Linked DNA regions of Homo sapiens: all the other regions are linked to region 1. Evidence: promoter capture Hi-C in 16 types of primary human blood cells and fetal thymus (Javierre and others, 2016). All regions are on one chromosome and are shown on one strand. The core of a region is centred on a gene start or on the middle of the fragment in contact, and the rest is flanking DNA. Distances in the headings are between cores, read along the strand shown. Region 1 holds the start of TAS2R60 (taste 2 receptor member 60). Region 2 holds the start of OR2F2 (olfactory receptor family 2 subfamily F member 2). Region 3 has its middle 26 kb from the start of OR9A2. Region 4 has its middle 6.7 kb from the start of OR9A2. Region 5 holds the start of LOC105375544 (a long non-coding RNA gene). Region 6 overlaps LOC112267988 (a long non-coding RNA gene). Region 7 has its middle 9.2 kb from the start of OR6V1.

The links. Contacts are between HindIII fragments. The CHiCAGO score rates a contact against its expected background, and 5 or more counts as called.
Region 2: the fragment with the promoter of OR2F2 here is called in contact with the fragment with the promoter of TAS2R60 in region 1 in 5 of 17 cell types (naive CD8 T cells, total CD4 T cells, activated CD4 T cells and 2 more); the score reaches 6.8 in naive CD8 T cells.
Region 3: a fragment that was not itself captured here is called in contact with the fragment with the promoter of TAS2R60 in region 1 in 1 of 17 cell types (neutrophils); the score reaches 9.2 in neutrophils.
Region 4: a fragment that was not itself captured here is called in contact with the fragment with the promoter of TAS2R60 in region 1 in 1 of 17 cell types (neutrophils); the score reaches 6.0 in neutrophils.
Region 5: a contact is called between a fragment that was not itself captured here and the fragment with the promoter of TAS2R60 in region 1, in 1 of 17 cell types (neutrophils). The highest score is 7.2, in neutrophils.
Region 6: a contact is called between a fragment that was not itself captured here and the fragment with the promoter of TAS2R60 in region 1, in 10 of 17 cell types (neutrophils, megakaryocytes, naive CD4 T cells and 7 more). The highest score is 10.0, in neutrophils.
Region 7: a contact is called between a fragment that was not itself captured here and the fragment with the promoter of TAS2R60 in region 1, in 1 of 17 cell types (neutrophils). The highest score is 5.2, in neutrophils.

The regions. Positions count from the first base shown.
Region 1 is chr7:143,441,744-143,445,008 of GRCh38, reverse strand. It overlaps TAS2R60 (taste 2 receptor member 60), which reads right to left and starts at 1,556. Exons shown (of 1, transcript NM_177437.1): 1 at 600-1,556. The coding sequence starts at 1,556. The coding sequence ends at 600. The region is part of intron 2 of EPHA1-AS1 (EPHA1 antisense RNA 1); the gene reads right to left. The HindIII fragment of the contact is 8,585 bases long and covers 1-3,265 here.
Region 2 is chr7:143,933,218-143,936,482 of GRCh38, reverse strand. It overlaps OR2F2 (olfactory receptor family 2 subfamily F member 2), which reads right to left and starts at 1,250. Exons shown (of 1, transcript NM_001004685.1): 1 at 297-1,250. The coding sequence starts at 1,250. The coding sequence ends at 297. RefSeq lists an enhancer at 402-901. The HindIII fragment of the contact is 1,264 bases long and covers 273-1,536 here.
Region 3 is chr7:142,999,200-143,002,464 of GRCh38, reverse strand. No RefSeq gene overlaps it. Among named protein-coding and RNA genes, the nearest start is that of OR9A2, 26 kb to the left of the region's middle. The HindIII fragment of the contact is 1,734 bases long and covers 722-2,455 here.
Region 4 is chr7:143,018,821-143,022,085 of GRCh38, reverse strand. No RefSeq gene overlaps it. Among named protein-coding and RNA genes, the nearest start is that of OR9A2, 6.7 kb to the left of the region's middle. The HindIII fragment of the contact is 3,835 bases long and covers 1-3,265 here.
Region 5 is chr7:143,037,900-143,041,164 of GRCh38, reverse strand. LOC105375544 (a long non-coding RNA gene) reads left to right here and starts at 233. Exons shown (of 2, transcript XR_001745395.1): 1 at 233-1,773. The HindIII fragment of the contact is 2,578 bases long and covers 489-3,066 here.
Region 6 is chr7:143,846,986-143,850,250 of GRCh38, reverse strand. The region is part of intron 2 of LOC112267988 (a long non-coding RNA gene); the gene reads right to left. Among named protein-coding and RNA genes, the nearest start is that of TCAF1, 54 kb to the left of the region's middle. The HindIII fragment of the contact is 4,388 bases long and covers 1-3,265 here.
Region 7 is chr7:143,059,921-143,063,185 of GRCh38, reverse strand. It overlaps the pseudogene OR6W1P. Among named protein-coding and RNA genes, the nearest start is that of OR6V1, 9.2 kb to the right of the region's middle. The HindIII fragment of the contact is 2,660 bases long and covers 309-2,968 here.

The sequences.
Region 1 (3,265 bases), core at 307-2,806:
TCTCCAAAGGTCATCGGAGAATACACACATCCCTGGCAACACACACTGCCACACACATGCACCAATTACACTATGCTCTGTGTAGAAGGTTTAGACACCAGAAACTCTTCCATGGAAAGAAGGAGAGAGGCACCACATTAGATGGCCAGAAAACTTTGAATTGATGAGAAGGGAAAGGTGGTTCACAGGACAAAGCCTGAGAAAACTGCAGTTCCAAAAACATGCCCCAGTTCGATTGAACAGATAAAATATTGCATGAAGTTTGAGGATCTTTGCATCCAGTTCCCAGAATGATTATTTTAAATACGAAGAGATCGATCACAGGAAAAATAAAGGCTTCTGGATTCTTTGACCACATCAGGTCCCACAGGAACCATGGCCACATGAACTATGCACTTGGTGAGTACATAACATGACACTAGCCCATATTTCAGGACCTTTACTCTCACCTTGTATCCTATTTCATTGAAGTTATTTTTCTAATCATTAACTGTAGCAACAGAGAGAAAACATTCAATGTGGCAAAGAGAGAAGCTATGTCCCTTTGAGTCCATGCCTTCTCCACAAGAATCTCCTTGAAGTTTTTCATCAGCTGTGGCTCAAGGTGTCCCACACCTTGAGGAACGACGACTCTTCAGCACAGCTCTCAGCCTGCAGTTGCTGAAGAGCAGAATGATGGGGTGAACTGCTGCACACAGATAAATCACTGACTCCCACACCCAGAATTTAAAGTCCAGAGGTGGAAAAATACCTGCAGCACTGAACACCAGTGACAGGAAATATGAGATGAAGAGCATGGCAAAAGAGAGGAGAGCCAGCAGAGCCTTTATGTGTGCCTGCACACTGGGCTCTCGGAATCCTGAGGTTGTAAGGAGAGCCTTCTTCCTGTGTCTTCCCAGAGATGTGATGAGCAAAATCATGCAAATGAAAAAGACAGCAGTGGGCATTGTCCAAGTAATCATTTTTAGAGGGAAGAGATAGAATTTCTCACAGTAGCTCCGTATGCTATCGCCAGTGACATTCCAAGGTTGTAGATGGTTCCTTAAATAGTTCTGATACATTCTGTGGTTGCCTATGAAAAATAGAATGGTGGTGAAGCTGGAGAGCCCTACAGAGCTGAAGAGCATCCATGGTAGCCACCCAGACAACTTGTGCTTTAGCCAGAAGAAGACAGGGTGGGTGAAGGTAGCAATTTTCACACAATAGAAGACACTGAGCCAGGTAGAGGACCATAAGGTGGCAGCATTCAGGAAGTCCCACTGGAAAGCTAGAAACTGCAGTACAGGGTTGTATGGGAAGGCCATCGGATGCAAGAAAACATAAATGGTCTTACCCATTACCACTGACTGCAGACAGAAGCGAGAGGCCCCTAGGCTAACCAATAACTTATCACAAGGCAACAACATTCTCCGTAGCACCCACTCCACGCCCAGAGCAGCAGTGATGAAGCCATTGCCTGCTATTGCTACCAGGCGTAAAAGGAGTAAAATGGTAACCAAGATGATGGCCTTCTTGTCAGTCACCGAAGATCCTAGAACCATGTGGTCTCCATTCATCTCTCTGGTGGACAAGATGGGTCCCAAAACTTCAAGGGCTATCTCTGTTGGGTTGCTCTGGAAGGTCCTGTAGGATATGTTTGTCCCTCCAGCTGCCCCAAGCGCAGAAGCTAGGCCAGAGTAGAGGACGCAGGCTATCAGAGGAGGGTGAGAGGTTTTTTCTTCTCAGAGTAGATGCAAATATTGTCAAGGCTCAATTTTCAAAGTCCCCATACCTGCCCAAAAATTTGCCTGCTCTTCTGCCTATTCTCTGCCCATGTCAACATCAAAGTGGATAATATATCAGGCCCTGGCATTTAGTGTCCTTACACAGGAGGTTATACTTCTCTAAGCGGACACCTATGACAGGACCATGCACCTGCCAGCTCAGTAGTATCATCCGTGGGGCACACCCGCTACTGAGACAGCGCTCACATCCACGGGGGGGGGGTGATTGTTATGTTGCAGGCATTGTTCTGAGTGCTCTCCTTAGTTCTCACAACAACTCTATGCGGGGAGTAGTATGGCAAGACCCCTTTAACTGAGACAGAGAGAAAACTGAGCAAACCTTTACAGAGAAGGATTAATTCAAGTCTTATTACTCACAGTGACCATCATCATAAAAAAAGAACACTGGAGACAATTATACATAATGAGGCAGGCAACTTTTTTCAAAATTTAAAAATATATATTTGATAACTGGTGGCCTCTAAAATAGCACTTCACAGAGGAACCCCCAGTAGCGATAAGCCAATGGGATATGGCAGAATGAGCCCTGTGCTAGGAGTCGAGACAGCCTTTAGTCCAAACTTTACCCCTTACTGTGAGTTGCTGGATATGTCAGCCCCTCTGCGCCTCATTTTGTCCATCTGTAAAATATGAAAAGTATCCTATGTTCTAATTCACAAAGATGTCTTAGAATCTCGGCTTAGAATGAAAGAAGACATGAAAGATAATCTTACAGATAAAAGAAATAAGACCCCAAATTATATATTACAACTCCCACCTAAAGTCACAGTTACACAGAGGAAAGACCAAGATCCAAACTGATTCCAGGACCAGGAATCTCTGCCATGGTTAGCAATACATGTTACACCTCCATCTTCTTCATCCCTAGCTGAACTCAGAAGCCCAAGTTTTGAGTCTTGTCACAATCACTACGGATCCTCAAGCAGTTAACCTCTCTGAACACCCCCCTTTCTTCACCTATAAAAAATATGGGTCACAAATAAATATGACCATAAATATGGTAAATATATTGGAAATTATAAACCTCTGCATATGGACAAGGAGCAATGATGATGATGACAATTACTTTATTAGAATGGCTATCTTCTATTCCATCCATCCTGTGGCATAATAAGTAGCATAAGGAGAATTCAGGAGAGCATCAGGGATGCAACAGAAGTTCAGGGCACCAAATGTCAGACCACTGATATCAACCAGAGAAGGACAGAGTAAAAAAAAGACCACATTCTTTATAGAAATCAGCTTCAAAGAGTCAAAAAAATCAGCAATCAACACCCAGGTGAGTGTAAGTAGGTTAACGTGTCACAGGGAGATAGGAAAGCAGGAATTGTTCTGGGTCAAATACAGCAATATTGAAGGCTCAGGATCAAGTAACATGACAGTAAGGGGATTTGTAATGAATACACATCTGCTGACACCACAACCTACCAGTTCCATATATAGGACCCCCACAAAAAGGGAATAGAACGCATGTCAGCATC
Region 2 (3,265 bases), core at 1-2,500, 490 kb before region 1:
ACAGTAAGTAGTACTTTTTTTCAGTTTTTATCAGAACATAAGAGTGGAGATTGAGAAATTGTGGAAGGTTCTGTTACAGCAGTAGCTAACTCCACTAATCATACTGCTGGGATATAAAATTATCCCCACATCCCACACCCCATCCAACTCAACCACTCAGCCTCCTACATAACATCCCCAGTACATGTTACATCATCTCCTTCCCGGTTGCCAGAGCAACATAGTTTATCCCTGCCATATCTGAGCTGGGTGGAGAAAAATGAGGCAAAGCTTCTTCTTAAAGTAATGTTCATGAGTCAAGTTCCCAGCTTGGATGTTAACCCAGAGAATTTCTCTAATAGTTTATGCCAGGCCCCCTTCACCTCTTTATTCCTTAGACTATAAATCACAGGGTTCAGCAGAGGCATAACAATGGCATAGAAGACAGAGATCAGCTTCTCTTGAAGGACTGAGGGACCAGAGTGGGGCTGGATGTAAGTGAAAATCGTTGTGCCGTAGCACAGGGCAACCACCGTGAGGTGAGAGGCACACGTGTGGAAGGCTTTCTTTCTTCCTTCTCTGGACTGGATCTTTAGGATGGTGGAGATGATCCGGATGTAGGACAACAGAACCAGGCAGAAAGGTGTCATCAGAAGAACAATGCTAGACACCATGATGGCAGCCTCATTGGAGGAGGTGTCCACACAAGCCAGCCTGACCACAGCTAGGAGTTCACAGGATATGTGATCAATAAACTTGTTAGTGCACATGGGCAGCTGAAAGGTGATAGCAGTCTGCACAAGAGAGTTGATGGAGCCACTGACCCAGGATGTGATGGCCAACCTAGCACACAGCCCTCCATGCATGATGGCCGAGTATCGCAGGCGGTCAGACACAGCCACATGGCGGTCATAGGCCATCACTGCCAGGAGAACAAACTCAATCCCACCCAAGGCCAGGGAGAAAAATAACTGGGCTGCACAGCTCTGGAATGGGATGGCTTTATGTTCTGCAAGAAAATGTGCCAGCAGCTGGGGGACTACGCTTGTGGCATAGGAGACATCGACAAGGGAGAGGTTGGTGAGAAAGAAATACATGGGAGTGTGGAGTCGGCTGTCCAGTCTGATCAGAAGGACAATGAGACAGTTCCCCAGCACTGTCATGAGGTATGTGACCAAGAACAGGGAAAACAGGGATATCTGAGTGCACCAGTCACTGGATAAGCCAAGGAGAATAAATTCTCTCACCCACGTCTGGTTATCTATTTCCATTTAAAAATGTGAGGAATATTAATCTGTAGAAAGAGTCAGAAAAAAACAGAAGCTGTTGAATCAAAGAATCATAAGAATAACTTCTTAGGAATGCATACTGTATACGACATTCCAGCCTTGGCCAAATATTTTAGATAATTCACAAGGCCAAGATGACAGGCTTGTTTCCAACATACACTATATTTACTTTGCATTAGAGAGACAGTAGTGCTTTCATAAGGACATGATGTGGACTCAAATAAGCCAGTTAAAGCCTGTAGATAATGCAGTGCAATTTTTGGAAGCTTTACCTCTTTACTAGCTTACCTCAGTATCCAGGGCAGGGAGTTTGTTTTCTGATGATGTCAGCAAAAAGGAAGAATAGAAAGTCCCAGGCTCTACTCTTCTCCACAGAACATTCAACTAGCAACTATCCCCAGACCAGAATATCTCTTTTAAAACTCCACTACTTGGACACTAACATGAGACAACCACAAGGTACGTGGAATGAAAATTGAATTAGAAGGCTAAGAAGCATAGTTTCACTTCAACCCTGCCACCTTGCCTCCTGCCAAAGTCAACACAACACCAGACAAAGAGGGTTTTCCTGGGCCCATGGTTTTTACAGGAGGAAAGGAAAACTAGAGGCAGTCATTCAGCATCTCTAGTTTTCCAAGATGCTTCTCAGAAATCCCACTCTGGGCTTATCTCATGGAGAACACTGGGGGTAACAGCATAGCTAGACTACCTGGTGTCAAGTAAAAACAAAGAAAGGAGGCAGAGGTCTTAGTGACCAGCACACAGATCATGGCATTACCTCTGTGTTCTTGCTAGCTGTGGTGCCCAATCTGAGACACTAGTCAACTTCATAGTTCATTTACAAAGCTAAGCTGGTCATCTTCAGAAGCATGGTGGGAAGTACAACCTAGCTTGAGGCCTTAGATAGCTAGTCCCCATGTCCAGTCTCAGAGCCCACACCAGTGACCTCTGCCAAGACAAGGAGATACACACCTCCACCCATTTCAGAAACACACATGAGGTAGACCTGCTTAACCCAGGAAGTCAATCCATGGCTCTACTCAGCTAAAAGGCCCCATCAAGGACATCTACATGCCTTTCAGAGAAGCATGAGGGCTAGAACTGTTTGACCTGGGAAGTCAAACTCAATTCAGCCAAAAGCCCATCTTAAAGGGAAGAAACCCTACAAGGAAGCTCCACCTTAACAGGGAAGCAACCATCAATTGTGTTTTTCTGAGTGTAGCCTCTGGCCTCAATCATTCTAAGCAGCAACTTCTCCTAACTTTGGAGTTCAGCCTACAGCCCTGCCCAACTGCAAATCCCAGAAAGCATAATTTTCCAGCCAGGGAATAAATTCTGTGACTAGTCTGACCAGAAGCCATTGCAGTACGCAGTCAGTAGCTCTGTGTGATAACAGAGCTCAGCCAGTGGTCTTGCCAGACAGCAGGGCCCAGTCAATAGCCCCAGCCAATATCAGAGCAAAGACAGCATCCCAGGCAGGTAGAAAATCCACAGTTAGCTTTGCTTGCCCAGGGCCATTACCAGCTGGCCCTTGAAGAATTACAGGCTACACTAAATAGTATAGGTCTAGCCCTGCCAAAGAACACCTGTAAAGGCCAGAAGGAGGGGGTATCTCTTCAAATGAAAAGATAACAATGCAAAGACACAAGGATTACAAAGCACTGGGGAGTTATGACACCTCCAAAAGAAACTAATAAAGGGCTAATAATGGACCCTAAAGAAATGGAGATTTATGGGGTGACAAAAAATTCAGAATAATCCTCTTAAGTTAAAAAAAAGTACCAATAGAAATTTTAAAAAATTTGGAAAAAAATACACAAACAAGATGAGGAGTTTTACAAATAAATAGAAACAATAAAAAAGAACCAAATAGAAATCCTAGAGATGAAGAATAAAAAGACTGGATTGAAAAATTCAATTAAAAGTTTCAATGGCAGACTCAAGCAGAAGAAATATCAGTGAGCTGAAAGAACATTTGAAATTATCCAGTCAGAGGG
Region 3 (3,265 bases), core at 339-2,838, 440 kb after region 1:
AGTGTGGACTTTAAAAACAACTTCTGGGATATTGAAAAATCTTTTCAAACAGGCGAATCAGGCAAACCCAGGGACTTTGTGATCATATGAAATCGAAGTGAAAAAAATAACCAATCAAATCTTCCATCTTCTGGCTAACTTCAGATTTGCCAGAAGAGGTCAGCAAAGACATTAACATCAGTCTTTGCCCTCCCTCGAGGCAGGATGGTGGGTTAGAAAGTGCTTTCTGCCACTTTGCTTAGAATTTATGCAGGGCTTCCATTATCCATACCCCTATCTTTTTTAGGCCCTCTTTCCAGAGTTTAACAGCTGCCTGAGCTCCTGGTGAGAGGATGGACCAATCTAAAATAAATAATAACACACATACCCTTTGTCTTATGTAATGACAGATCTTCAATTTAAATTTATGTACTGCATCTCTATGTAAACTAATTAAAATTTCTGGCATGTTAGCCTATGCAATTAGACAAGAGAAAAAAAATGCAGGGCCAAGATGTTAAAAAGGAGGAGAAAAAAAGATTAACATGAATTTTAAATAATTTGTTTATCTGGAAATCTCAACAAAATAAAGTAAAAAACCAATGTGGCTGGGCACAAAATTTATATTGAGAGTCAAAAGACTTCACATATAAAACACATTAAGTTAGAAAATATAATGGAAGGAAAGAACCTCATTTACAAAAGCAAAAGCAAAGAAATATAACATTATTAGGAATAAGCTTAACAAGTAAAGATTTACATTTAAACTAGATTGACATTTAAAAAAATGCTCCTGAAAGACACAAAAGTAGATTTGAGCAAATGGAAAGGTGGAGTAAACAATACAAAGATATCAATTCTCCTCTAAGTGTATCCATAAAAATGATACAATCACAATTTAAAAATCAATAGTATTTTTTAAATCTAGAGAAGCAGATTACATTTTATTCATGCATTATTTCATTCATTTATATTTTTAGAGACAGAGTCTTGCTCTGTCAGCCAGGCTGGAGTGTAGTGGCATGATCATAGCTCACTACAGACTTGAACTGCTGGACTCAAGTGATCCTCCCACCTCAGCCGCCTGAATAGCTGGGATTACACATGTGAGCCATCGTGCCCAGCTTAGATTAAACTTTTTATTATGGAAAAATAAACAAGCAAAAAATTTTCAAAAACATTCTGAAATAGAAGCATAATGAGGAATAACTACATCTGTAAAACAGACTATATAGCTATAATGTAAACAGTACTATCATTGGGAAAAAATGAATTATTCAATAAATGGTCAAACAAACTAGCAGCTACCTAAAAAACAAAAGTTAATTCCATTACTGCCTATGTCATACCAGGCTGTTTAAAATGGGTCAAATATTTAAATGTAAAAAAAAAACATAGATTTAACATAAGAAATAAAAGAATGTTTATAAAAATGGGTAAGACCTTTCTTAGGATGACTTAAAACACAGATGTCATAGAAGATTGACTTTATGAAGAATTTTTTAAAAATTTGCTATGGTTAATACTACCCCAAGGTAAACAGACACACGAAAACACCAGAAAACAATTTCAACTCATATCACAAAAGGTTAGTTTGCATCATGTGTAAAAAGCTCCTATAAGAAAAAAATAAAACTACTCAGCAGAAAAATGGGCAAAAGATAAGCACATGTGAGAATATTTTCATCTTCATTCATAAGGAGAACAATAAAAATTAAAGCCATATTAAGATACTATTTTCAGTTATTAAACTGGCAAATGTCAAAAAGTTTTATAGTACACTGCGTGAAAATAGGTAGTGTAAAATGTAATAGCCTGCATGAAGGGCAATTATGTAATATATATTAAAGTGACAAATGCTTTTACGCTTTGGCCTAGCAATTCCTCTTCTAGAAATTGTCATTTAGATATTGTGTACAGGGAAATAATGTATGTATTCCATTTGGTGGAATAATCTGGAGTTATTAAAAAAGGAAACAAGAACCAAGAATGTCTTATGTATAAATATACAATGATCTGTACTGCATAGGACATATGTTCGATATACTACCATTTGTACAAAAAGAAAATGTGCTTGTATGCATTTGCTTATGCAGACGTATATGCTTAAAATTACCTCTGTAAAGACACAGAAGAAAGTGATAACATTGGTTGCCTTGAGGGAGGAGGATCAGATAGAAAAGTGTTTCAAAGTATCCTTTAAAATTTTGAACCATGGAAGTATATTATGCTTTGATGCTTTAATATTTGAATATAGTTATATCTTCTTTTGATATTCTGGCACTTTTAAAAACATCTGTATTTGGGGTACTATATGATCCTGATTCTCTAAGTGTTATAATTAACATATATATCTTATTAATCCAAAACTCAACTATGTAGTCTTTCTAGAACATAGCTAGGAATCAGAAAATAGCAAAATAAACCAGCAAGCAGACAAAATAAATGTTACAAAGTCCATGAACCACATAAAGCTTAGCCACTTTACTCACAGGAAGTCTGTTAGAGTCCCTTTTATCTGTTTGTTTATTTATTGGAAATAAGCTTGATAAAATGATTTACTCATAGAAAGGAGATAAGAAAAGACAGGTCTACTGAAAACAACAAGCAGTGTGTTAGCTCTCAATCAAGAGACATGTTGAGAGAAATTAAAAACCAACTGTACAAAGCTGACCAAAGGACTTAAGACATTTTTGTTCATTTAGTGCAGGAGCAAACCTTCTCTGAGATCATGTATATATGACAGTGGCATCCTAATGATCGTCTTGAGAAACCAAGAAGACATTCAGGTATGCTCAATAGAATCTATTAAGACTGATTTTCATGCCTAACATTTAAATAAAATATAAAAACTTTTGATGATTAAGTCTAAAACTTAGAGTCTCTGGAAAATGGAATAACACATTTCAGGTTGGTGGTGTTTTGGAGTATATTTTTAAATGCTTAACTGAAGATATCACCAAATGCCAGAGTAATTGGTCAGAGATTTCTTTTTCTATTGAACACAAATGAAAACATCAGTATCAAAAATTGGCAGTAGATATGCAAAAAGGGAGTCAGGAAAATTATTCTTGTACAAGAAAACAACTTTATAAGAGCTCAGGAGAAACTTCTAACTTTTCTACAGTGGAATGACTCCAACAATCACAGTCAAAATTTAAAGAATGGGTAATATGTTTTAGCAAATAAATGAGAGGAATTGTAGCAGTCATTAATCTAGGACAGGTTAGAATAAAAGAGGTGGTAACATAATGATTAACCATTTAACAGAGTGATTAGGACTATT
Region 4 (3,265 bases), core at 531-3,030, 420 kb after region 1:
ACAGGCACAATTCAGTTAAGTTCCTTGCCACCTCATAAAAAGAATGGCCTTTACTTTAAAAAAAGGATGGACATTCCTCTTTTCTGTCTCAGCTTTCATCAAAATGGCCATTACTTTTCATATTTCTATCAATATTCTTATCACGACCACCTAAGTAATCTTTTAAAAGTTTCAGATTTTTCTACATTTCTTCTTTTCTTCTGAGTTCTTACCAGAATTTCCCTTAGTGTTCAATTTATGGTAGTCTAGGATTCTTCTAGCCTGCTCTTCTAAATTCCTCCAACCTCTGCTCATTACCCAGCTAAAAGCCACTTCCACATATTCAGGTATTTGTTATAGCAAAAGCCCCACTCTTGGTGCACATTTTCTATCTTAATCTGTTTTTTGTTGTTAGACTAGCACAGGCTAAGTAATTTATAAAGAAAAGAAGTTTATTTGGCTCATGATTTCAGAGGCTGAGAAGTTCAAAGGCATGGTGCTGGCATTGCCAAGGGCCTGCATGCTGTGTCATTCCATGGTGGAAGGCAGAAATGCAAGAGGGAGAGAGAGCAAGAGAGGCTGAACTCTCTTGCCCTCACACGAATTTATTCATGCTCATGAAAATGAATCCACTCCCCCAATAATGACATTAATTTATCCCTGAGAGCATAACCCTCATAACCTAATTACCTCTTAAAAGTTCCACCTCTCAACACTATTACAATGGCCACCAAAGTTCAACATGAGTTTTGAAAGGGACGTGCAAACCATAGCAGTAGGAAACCTAGGAAACTTGTACTATGCATACACTGTGGCCTATTTTTAAGTTTGTTAATTCTTTCTTCAGCTATGTTGAATCTACCAATGAACCTGTGAAAATAATTCCTCATCTCCCATATCGTGGTTTTATTTATAACATTTCCATTATATTCTTTCTTATAGTTTTAAGCTGTCTATCAGAAACCTTTTCTTGTTTATGCATGTTGTCCACCTTTTCAACAACATCATTTAACGTTTTCATTACACATATTATGTTTGCATTAAGTGAATATTTTTTCTATGGCAGTCAACCCTTCATATCCATGGATTCTTCATCTTGGATTCAACCAACTGCAGATAAAAAATATTTGGGAAAAAAAGGTTGGTTGTGTATGTACTGAACATGTACATGCTTTTTAAAAATCATGATTTCCTAAACAATATAGAATAACAACTATTTACCTTGTATTAGGTATTATAAGTAATCTAAAATGATTTAATGTATACAGGATGATGTATGTAGGTTATATGCAAATAGTATACAATTTTATATAAAGAACTTGAGCATCTGTGAATTTTTGTATCTGTGGGGTTCCTCTTTTGGAACCTTGGTTTGAAACCAAGCACCCACAGATACTGAGGGATCACTGTATAACATTTTAAATCCTTTGTTGATTTTTAAATTGTATTTTAAATGAATGCTCTAGAGCTTAACATATATATCTTATCAGATTGGCTTCAGATTTATACTAACAATGCCAGTGAGATATAGGAGCATTACTCCTATATAGCTCTATTCTCTTTTTCCTCCTTTTGTTCTGTTATTGTTGTAATACATAGTTCACCTACTTACAAACTTAACAATATATTGTTATAATTGTTACTTATAATTTTAAAGGAGATGGGAGAAGAAAGGAGAACGTTTGCATATTTCTAGCATTTGTAATGTTAACCTTATTTATTTTTTCTGGTTATCTTCATTTGTTTCTCAGATTCACATTTACATCTGATCTCATTTCATTACTCCAAAACTGTTCTGCTCCTAGCTAACTCTTTTGTGCTATTTTTGGTAAATCTATTACATTTCTTTATGTTTTCCATTCACAAATAAGGTATATACTTATTGTCTTATGTAACTGTTTTTTTAAACTAGTTAAAAGAAGAGAATAAACATGCATTTATGCTTTCTTTTATAATTACTTACTATATATTCCTTATAATTACTTACCATAAAAACTTACTTTTATCAATGCTTTTTATTTTATTTATGTGGATTATAAACACTGTCTGATGTCACTTGCTTTTAGTCTGCAGAAATTCCTTTAGTATTTCTTGTAAGTTTGGTCTGCTAGCAACAAATTCTCTCATTTAGTTTATCTCAGAATTTCTTTCTTCTGCCTTAATTTTTGAAAGATAATTTTGCCAGCTATAGGATTTGTGGTTGACCTTGTTTTTTCTTTCACCACTTGGAATATGTCATCCTGTTCCCTTCTGGTCTCAACTGTTTCTGATGAGAAGTCAGCTGTTAATCTTACTGATTCCATTAGATGTGAGATGTTCCATTAGATGTGAGAAGACACTTTCTCTTGTTGCTTTGAAGATTTTTTTCCTTGTTTCTCAGAGATTTTACTATTATTTGTCTACTGTAGATCTCTTTGTGTTTATTCTACTAGAAGTCTATTGACCTTTGTGGGTGAGTAGATTAATATTTTTCATCGAATTTGAGAAGTTTTCAACCATGATTTCTTCAAATATTTTTTACGTTCTTCTGTATCTCTCCTATCCTTCTGGTACTTCCATTACATGTATATTGGTACACTTAGTGGTATCCCATATTTCTCTGACACTTTTTCATTTTTCTGTATTTCTTTTTTGTCTCTGATCTTTGGATTGCGTGATTTCTATTGACCTATCTTGAAGTTTAATCATTATTTCTTCCATTAGTTACAAAATACAGTTGTGCTCCTCTGGTTAATTTTTTACTTATTGTACTTTCAGACTCTAGAATCTCCATGTGGCCATTTTTATCATTTTGATATTTTTGTTGATATTCTCTACTCAGAGAAACATTATCATCATACTTTTCTTTACTTTTTAAATAAAATCATTTCCTTTAATTCTCTGAACATATTTATAATGTCTACTTTGAATTTAAATGTTAAATATGCCATCTGGTCCCTCTCACATACAGTTTCTATTGTTAGCTTTTCCTCCTGTGTATGAGTCACACTTTCCTGTTTCTTTGCATATCTTGTAATTTTTTGTTGAAAACTACACATTTTAGATATTATATTGTATCACTATGGATACTGTTATCTCACTTCCAGGGGATTATTATTGTAATTTGGTTATCAATTTGTTTATAGTCATGCACTATATAACAATATATCAGTCAATGATGGACTGCATGTAAGATGGTGGTTCTATAAGATTATAATGGAGCTGAACAACTCCTATCACCTAATGACATGGTAGCTGTTGTAACATCATAGCACATCACGTTTCTCATGTGTTTGTGGTGATGTTG
Region 5 (3,265 bases), core at 528-3,027, 400 kb after region 1:
AAGCCAGGAGTCCTTTGGGTTGTACAACGCTGATGCTTAAACTAACAATGGGTACAGTCAGACAGCAACAAGAGGCAGATGAGGACTGGGTCCAGCACCTCAGTTGTGTGTGTGTGTGTGTGTGTGTGTGTGTGGTGGGGGGCTTTGGAGTTCGACCTGGGTTTGAAATGTAACATTTACATAGTAGTTGTTGACTAAGCATTCATTAAGTAAATGTAACGCAGATAAAAATCTGGAATTTTATTCAATAAAAAATCCCCAATATTATGGGGATAGTAATGCCTCCCTCATAAGGTTAATTTCAGAATTAAATAAAACATGTTATGTAACACACTAGTACAGGTCGTCTTGGGGTATAGAAGAGCATGGTAGATGTTAGTAAGCTGACAAGAGCAAGCTAAGTTTGTTTAGCAATGCTCTTCTCCAGCCCTTTCCTGCTGTCTGGCCTCACTATCCCAGTGTTACAGGATGGAGGAGAGTCTGAAGCTTCAGGATCCCCAGCTGTGAGGTCCCCTTCCCCCTTTCTCCACTGCTCAGTCCCAAGGGGCTGTGTCTCCCTGGCACTCCAGCAACCATCCCAGACACTGACGTTGTCATAAACTGCACACTTACGCTCATGGATCCTCTTCATCATGTCCAGAGGCACATTTACTTATCATTATTGATAAGGACATGCCACACTCATTGCTGAGGTATTTATTGAGCTTTTACTGTGTTCCAGTATGTAACTTATTCACCTTAAAGCATCTGTCTTTGATTATAAGACTGCTGATCTTCAAAAGCACATTTGTGAGTCTCAGAATCTCAGGGTTGCCAGGATTCTTGAAGGTCACTCCACTCAACCTACTGGTGCTTCATTCCCTGCTGACAACAGCTGACTGCCTCCTGTAGAAGGGTGGTCTAGGAGTTCCCGGTCACTCATGTCAACTCAGCTAGTAAACTGCAGCATGACCTTAACAAGTCACTCGATTTCTGAGTTTCAGGCTTACAATATGTAAAACGAAGTGTTGGAAAACATTATCTTTCCATTGCTGATATTCTTTGGCCCTTATTAATATCATAGTCATTCTAATCTCTTGTTTCTCCACATCCAAATATGGATGCCCTCTGTGTCCCAACCCAGATAGAGGAGGAGGTATTTTTTTTTTGCCATGGCAGGCCTCTAAGTTTGTTTTTTGGGGGCTCTCTCTCTCTTCTCCCTTCCTTGTCACCACCTTCCCTTTGTCCTAGAAATATGTATTACATTCACAGAATATCTGGAAAAACCAAAACCCTGGATCTATACCTTATGCTTCCAAAAAATAATAAATTCCCGATGGCTCAAACAGACTTAAATGTAAAAAGTAAAAAATGGGATTTTTTGGTTTGTTTTTAATTTCCTTGGAGTATGAACATAGGCTTTTCAAAGGAAAACACGGATCCCGGGAGTCTAAAAGACTGTTAAGTGTAACTGCCTAAGGATGAAATATTTATGCAAGATAGAAACAAAACATAAAAACAGAAACATGAAATAAAGATTTGTTTGATTTATGCAAAATGTTCTCTTACAAACCTGTACATTCATTAAAGAAAACTGCAAATGATTTTTTAAACATGAAAAGAACTCAATCTCACTGTAAATTAAAAAAACAAACTTTAATAAGAATTGTTTTTGAATAACTGTTATTTTTTAGACAATGTACTGAAGATACAGCAGTAAACAGAGTGGACATGGTCTCCCCACTATGGAGCATATTTGATGAAGACCGATGTTACCATACGCTATAAAACCAGGTAAACACACACACACACACACACACACACACACACACTTACAAAATAGTGAGTTGTTTTGAGCAAGAAACTACGTGGTTGTCTTAGATCTGGGAGTGATGAGGGAGAAGATGTTTGGACAGACCTGTGATGAGGTCACAACAGAGGCTTAAATCCTACGGGGAGCTCTGAGCTAGGACGGCTTTCCAGAGTTGTCCTGAATTGTGCCCAGAGTTGTCCTGAACAGAAACTTGGGGCCTGGGCATTATACTTCTGCATCCATAGGCCATTGGATGCAGGCTACCTTAGAGGAAGGGCTATAATCTTGGGGAAGGTGTTTCTCTTTGATTGGGAGCAATTTGGGGGTAATTAGCATCTTGGTTCTGAATGGGAGTCCGGGCAGCGCACTGCAGCATTTACTGTAATATCTGGAAAGCCCCTGGCAGGGAACCTGAACATGGATATGTCTGTGAGGTTATGGGAAGCATCTATAGGAGTAATCATTAACTGGTATCTGGTGCTAACTAGGCACAGCATGGTGGGAATCACAATGAGCACTCTGAGAGATGGAGCAGCGTGCCATTACAGGAGCACAAAGGATGTCAGTGTCACTGAGCAGAGGAGTGACACAAGATGACATTAGAGAAAGGTATTTCTAGAAATCATGCAGAGCCTCACAGGTCTCAGGACTTTAACCAAATGGCAGAGAGAAAGGTTTTAATCCGGGGAGAGACCTGATCTAGTCTGTGTTTTAAAGGATCACGCAGGCTGCTATGGGGAGAACAGAGTAGACAGAGGGAAGCGAGGGTAGATGTGAAGGTCAGTTAGGAAGTTTTGTGGCAGGTCAGTAAGGTTTGTTCCTTCTCATTTCCTGTTTTGTGGGTAATGTCTCTGCCACTGGGGTAATAATCCTATCTCTAATAACATACATTATTAATGCAACCCTATATAGTGGATAGGTAATAACCCTATCTGTTCTACTAGTTTGCCAGAATGTCCTTTTCTTTCTCTGGGCCATGATGACTTCTCTTACCTGTGTCCGAGTATACTTATGTGGGAAAGTCAAACATAGACATGGAATGGCCTTGAGCTTAAGGATATTCAGCAAACACTTCTACTCACTTGTAAAATCATTAATCTAGGATAAGTTTATGTACTAGATCTGGTGTGGACTGTAATGGCCCATGATGTTATCTAGAGAGAACTGATTCAGACAAAAATGTTAGCTTTGTGGAGGAGTTCCATCCAAAGAGTCATGAGTGGAGAGTCCTCATGTTGGACTGAGAGGCTCAGGTCACCATTAAGAAGAAAGCTTGAAAACTAGCTCCATGGCTGGGCGCGGTGGCTCACGCCTATAATCCCAGCACTTTGGGAGGCCGAGGCGGGCGGATCACAAGGTCAGGAGATCGAGACCATCTTGGCTAACACGGTGAAACCCCGTCTCTACTAAAAATACAAAAAATTAGCCGGGCGCGGTGGTGGGCACCTGCAATCCCAGCTACTCAGGAGGCTG
Region 6 (3,265 bases), core at 218-2,717, 410 kb before region 1:
CTTCCATTGTATATATACACCACATTTTCTTTATCCATTCATCCACTGATGGACACTTAGGTTGATTCCATGCAACTACTGTGAATAATGCTGCAATAAACATGGGAATGCAGATATCTCTTCCACATAACTGATTTTATTTCCTTTGGATATATACTCAGTAGTGGGATTCTGGATCATATGGTACTTCTATTTTTTAACTTTTTTAGGAACCTTCATTCTGTTTTCCATCATTGCTGGACTAATTTACAACAGCATATGAGACTTCCTCTTTCTTCACATCTACCCCAACATTTGTTATTTTTTGTCTTTTTGATAATAGCCATTCTAACTGGACTGAGGTGATATGTCATTATGGTTTTATTTGCATTTCCCTGATGATTAGTGATGCTAAGCATTAGTATGTCTTCTTTAGAGAAATGTCTATTTAGGCATTTTGCCCATCTTTAAATGGAATTATTTATTTTTCTGCTATTGAGTTATTTTTCTATATATTCTAGGCATTAACCCCTTGTCAGATGCATAGTTTGCATATGTTTTCTCCCATTCCTTAAGTTAACTTCAATCTGTTTCCTTTGCTGTACAGAAGCATTTTAGTTTAATATAGTACCATTTCTCTATATTTGCTTTTGTTGTATGCTTTTGAGGTCTTATTCAAAAAATTCTTGCCGAGACCAATGTCATGAATTGTTTCTCCCATGTTTTCTTCTAGGATGCTTACAGTTTCAGGTCTTACATTAAAGTTTTTAATCAATTTTGAACTAATTTTTACATATGGTAAGAGACAGGGGTCTAATTTTATTCTTCTACATGTGGATATTCAGTTTTCCCAGTGCCATCTATTGAAAAGCCTCTCCTTTTCCTAATGCATGTTGCTGACACTTTTGTTGAAAATCAGTTGGCTGTAAGTGCATGGATTTATTTCTGTTCTGTATTCTGTTTCAGTTATCTATGTGTCTATTTTTATACCAGTACCATGTTGATTTGGTTACTATAGCTTTATAGTATATTTTAAAGTCAGGTAGTGTGATGCCTCGAGCTTTATTTTTGCTAAGGATTACTTTGGCTATTTGGGGTCTTTTGTGGTTCCATAGAAGTTTTAGGATTTTTTTTTCTATTTCTGTGAAGAATAGGGATTGCATTGAATTAGTAAATTGCTTTGGATAATATGGACATTTTGACAATATTAATTTTTGCAATTCATTATTATCTTTCTATTTATTTGTGTCCTCTTCAATTTATTTTATCCATATTCTATAGTTTCCACTCAAGATGTTTCACCTCCTTTGTTAACTATATTCCTGGGTATTTATTTTATAGCTATTGTCAGTGGATTGCTTTCTTGATATCTTTTTTTAGGTAGCTTGCTACTGGCATATAGAAACACTACTGATTTTTGCATGTTGAGTTTGTATCCTGCAACTTTATTGAATTTATTTATTCTAACAGTTTTTTGTGGAATCTTTAGGATTTTCTATATATAAGATAATGTCATCTGCAAACAAGGACAATTTGACTTCCCCCTTTCCTATTTGGATGCCTTTCATTTCTCTTGCCTAATTGCTCTGGCTTGGATTTCCAGTAGTATGTTCAACAAAAGTGATAAATGCGGCATCCTTGTCTTATTGCAGATCATAGAGGAATAGCTTTCAACTTCTTCAGTATGATGTTATCTATGAGCTTCTCATTTATGGCCTTTATTGTGTTGAGGTATATTACTTCTACATCTCATTTGCTGAGAATTTTTATCATGAAGGGATGTTAAATTTTATCAAATTTTTTTCTTTGTCTATTAAAATGATTATGTCATTTTTGTCCTTCATTCTGTTAATGTGATGTATCACATTTGTGATTTACATATGTTAAACCATCCTTGCATCCCTGGGATGAATCTCACTTGATTGTGGTGAATTATTTTTTCAATATGCTGTTGAATTTGTTTCACTTATATTTTGTTAAAGATTTTTGCATCTATGTTGATAAAGGAGATTGGCCTGTAGTTTTCTTTTTATCAAGTTATCCTTGTCTGGTTTTGATAATGTTGGCCTCATAGAATGAGTGTGGAAGAATTTGCACCTCTTCAACTTTTTAGAATAGTTTGAAAAGAAGTGATATTATTATTTACATGTTTGGTAGAACTTAGCAGTAAAGTCATCAGTTCCTGGGCTTTTCTTTGACGGGAGACTTATTATTACTGATTCATTCTTGTTACACATTATTGGCCTGTGTAGGTATTTTATTTCTTCATAGTAGTTCAACTTTGGTAGGTTGCATGTGTCCAGGAATTTATTTATTTCTTTTAGGTTTTCCAGTTTATTGGCATATAATTGCTCATAAAAGTCTTCTATGATCCTTTGTATTTCTGTGACATCTCCTTTTTTAGCTCTGATTATATTTATTTGAGTCTTCTCTTTTTTGTTAGTCTAGCTAAAACATTTGTTTATCTTTCAAAGGACCAACTTTTTGTTCTACTGATTTTTATATTATTTTCAGGCTCTATTTCACTTATTTCTGCTTGATCTTTATCAGTCTTCTCTTCTAGTAGTTTAGGGTTCAGCTGGCCCTCGTTTTTCTCATTCCTTGAGGTGCCACATAAAGTTTTTATAAAAGATTCTTATACTTTTTTGATGTAGGCATCTATTGCTATAAACTCCCTCTTAGAATAGCTTTTGCTGTATCCCATAGGTCTTGGTACATTATGTTTCCTTTTATTTGTCTCAAGGAATTTTTAAATTTTCTTTTTAATTTCTTTATTGATGCCCTGGTTTTGTAAAAACTTGTTTTTAGTTTTCACATATTCGTATATGTTCCATAGTTCCTCTTGGTATTCATTTCTAGTTTTTATTGCATTGTGGTAAGAGAAGATACTTGATAAGATTTTGATTTTTTTGATTGCTTGAGATATGTTTTGTGGACTAACATATATTCTATCGTGGAGAAAAGTTCCATGTGCTGTTGAGCAAAATGTACATTCAGTAGTTATTGAGGGGAATGTTTTATAAATATCTGCTGGGGCTATTTGGTCTAGAATGTAATTTAAATCTGATAATTCTTTGTTGATTTTCTATCTAGATGATCCATCCATTGCTGAAAGAGGGTGCTAAAGTCCTTTTTTATTTTATTTTAATTTTTCTCTCCCTTTAGATCTCATAATATTTGCTTTATATATTTACTTTATATATTGGGTGTTCTGGTGTTGTGTGCTCATATACTGACAACTGTCCTAACCTTCTGCTGAACTGATTTCTTTATCTTTCTTTATATA
Region 7 (3,265 bases), core at 389-2,888, 380 kb after region 1:
CTGCTATCCACTCACAAGACCATGTCCCTGGCCAAATGCCTAACCCAGTCTTTCTTTTACTTCTCCCTGGGCTCTGCCAACTTCCTGATACTCATGGTCATGGCCTTTGATCGCTACGTGGCCATCTGCCACCCCCTGCGCTACCCAACCATCACGAATGGTCCAGTGTGTGTGAAGCTGGTGGTGGCCTGTTGGGTGGTTGGTTTCCTCTCCATTGTCTCTCCCACACTGCAGAAAACACGACTCTGGTTCTGTGGCCCTAACATCATCGGCCACTACTTCTGTGACTCTGCCCCGCTGCTCAAGCTTGCCTGCTCTGACACCCGCCACATTGAGCGCATGGACCTCTTCCTGTCCCTGCTCTTTGTGCTGACCACCATGCTGCTTATCATCCTCTCCTACATCCTCATTGTGGCTGCAGTGCTGCACATCCCTTCCTCCTCTGGATGCCAGAAGGCCTTCTCCACCTGTGCCTCTCACCTCACAGTGGTGGTTCTGGGCTATGGCAGTGCCATCTTCATCTACGTGAGGCCAGGCAAGGGCCACTCCACATACCTCAACAAGGCGGTGGCCATGGTGACTGCAATGGTAACCCCTTTCCTCAACCCCTTCATCTTCACCTTCCGGAATGAGAAGGTCAAGGAGGTCATTGAGGATGTGACTAAAAGGATCTTCCTTGGAGACCCAGCAGCCTGTAGGTGAGAGGGTGAGCCCTTGACAGGGCTAGAGAGCACCTGACAAGTCACGAGGAGTAGACTTGCTGCAGGTGGGCACCCACATGCCTAAGCTGGAGCTCCTCACTCTCTTTTTTCTCATTTTCTCCTGGTCCCTCATCTTCATGCAAGTTTCTTCTCCTGCACTGCAGAGAACTAATGGACACACATTGGTAGAATGTCTCAAAGGCAAGTTTCTGTGCACCTGGGATAGTTAAGGAATGGATAGGGAATGCAGAGTGAGTACAATGGGACGGTCTTAATTAAAAGAGATAATCCAAACAAATAAGGCTCTTAGTGCAGGGTCTGGCACATTAAGTAAGAGCTCAGTAAATGTAGCTATTATTAAAATGTCCTATTAAAACCTTTCTTTCTTAGCTCTGTGGTTTTGCTTGCATTCTTTTAAGTTTCCTTTATTTTGGATGTGTTTCCTTTTCAGGACCTGGCTTCAAGGTCTATGATAGAGTTCTGAAAATGGGAGGTGCTCTAAGAAGAGCAGAGAGGCCTGGCACCCCAACACAGGAGGAGCCATGTGCTTCTGTTGGCTCCCCTCTCTCGGCCTGACCGCTCCTGGATGGAAGCACCCCTCACACCCAGGCTGCCCACTTCTTCCATCTGGCCCCAAAGCCTCTTGCCTTTCCACAGAAATGGCTCTCTGGGAGCCACTCCTCCAACCCTCTTATAGAAAGTCATGAAGACCTTACCTTTTTCATGCACTTGAGAGTGGGGGAAAGCTGAGCTGCGTCTGCACTCTCAGACTTGCTGCCTTCCCCTTCCCGTGGGGCCACTACTTCCCTTCTACTGCAGAATCTTAGATCCAAGTTCCAGAAGAAGGACCAGTTGCCCAGGCCTTCTGAGGCTGGGTTTCCTGAGAGCAGCCTGGCCAGATTACCAGGGCCCCTGGATGGTAGAAGCAAAGGTGGTAGAAATCAGATGAGAAGGAGTAAACGGAGTGGGACTGGTGTTGTAGGTAACGTGGTGGGAGGGCTGATAAGAGAGGCATTCCTCGGAAATCTGGATGGCGTGAGAAGTCATGGGAAGATGGTAGGGGCAGGAAGAGATCCGGGTCTGGTTTCTTTTACTAGACTGAGTCTCAGCTGGGCTGGGCTAGGATTAGCAAAGCGGGGCAAAGAGTAGATGCAAACTTCCTCTCATTTCTGAAGCTGGTTCTGTCCACAGGATCCCTAGAGGAGAGGCCCTGCTCATAACTTGCAGTGTGGTGTCACAGTGTGGGAGCCACCCCACAGGGCCAAGACTATGAAGAATGGTTTCAGGGGAAGCCTTCCAGGACACAGAGCTTGGAGGCACCACTGTCTTACTGTCTCTGCCATTTAGCTTGATCTCTAACATAGCTCTTTTTCTTTTTCAACCCCCACAGTACATTTTTGCATTTGTGGGCCTTGCCAAAAGTGGGCAGATACTTCTGATTCTGCTGTAAAGACCAGCAGGGAAAAGTTTTTCATCCTGAGAACTTGTCTCTTTCACCTCCCAAGAGACTAATTACTTGCCCTCCTTGCAAACTTCCTGAAAAACTGAAGAGCTAAGTGGAAAGTAATTATCTCCTTCTGAGATGCAGATACTTTTCCTCAGCTTCTCCTCCTAAAATAATCAGCACAGGAGTCACTCAGTGTCCTCCCCAGGGACTCCTTCCTGCTACTCGCTCTTCTCTGCACATTCCCCCTCTTAAAAAACTAAAAATAATCAATAGCCTATAGCGGGCTATCTCCTGTTTTTCATAGGATTTCCTTGGAAGTGGGGTCTCTGGTCAGTTTTGGGGACGGTCTGACTAGCTTTGGGCCTTCATAGCAATCACCCCATGGAATCCAGCATCATGCAGCCTGACCTGCCCCACAGCCTTGCCTGTGGTTCTTTGCTCTTCAAAGTGTGATGCTTGAAACAGCACTGGCATCTCCTGGGAGCTTATTGGAGATGCAGAATCTCAGGCCCCACCTGAGACCTCCTAAATCAGAATCTGCATTTTTGCAGATCCCCGGGTGATTCCTATGCACGTTAATATCTGAGTAACGCTGAGCTAGACAATTTGCTGGTAGAGTTTTCAAACAATAAATTGTATAAGAAAGGCCTTGTTCCAATCTCAACAACGTGAAGGGCATTGGAAGAGGGAATTTGGGGACACATTTGCTATTGTTGGATCCATCATTCCTTAGTGACCTTTATCCCAGGTCCCATTTCCGGAGACAGTAGTAACCAGGATGAAGACCCTGAAGACTCTCATCCTAGTCTGACTTTAAGCTTCTTGAGTGACTTCAATCAATGGCCCAGCCTCTGACTCACTGTTAGAATTCTATGTGGATGTCACCTAGAGATGTCTAGATATATTGGTTCCAGACATTTGTCTTAATGTGGCAGGGATGTCAATGTGCACAATGGCAAATGAGACTCCTGGATAGATAGAAACGAAAAAATAATTTTTTAAAAATCTTGCAACTTGCTGGGAGGAATCTTGGGATTCCAGTTCCAAATCAAAGTAGCTGTTATAAAAGGCTCCTCAGGTTTAAGACATGATGTAAGTAAACCACAGCTTCATGGAA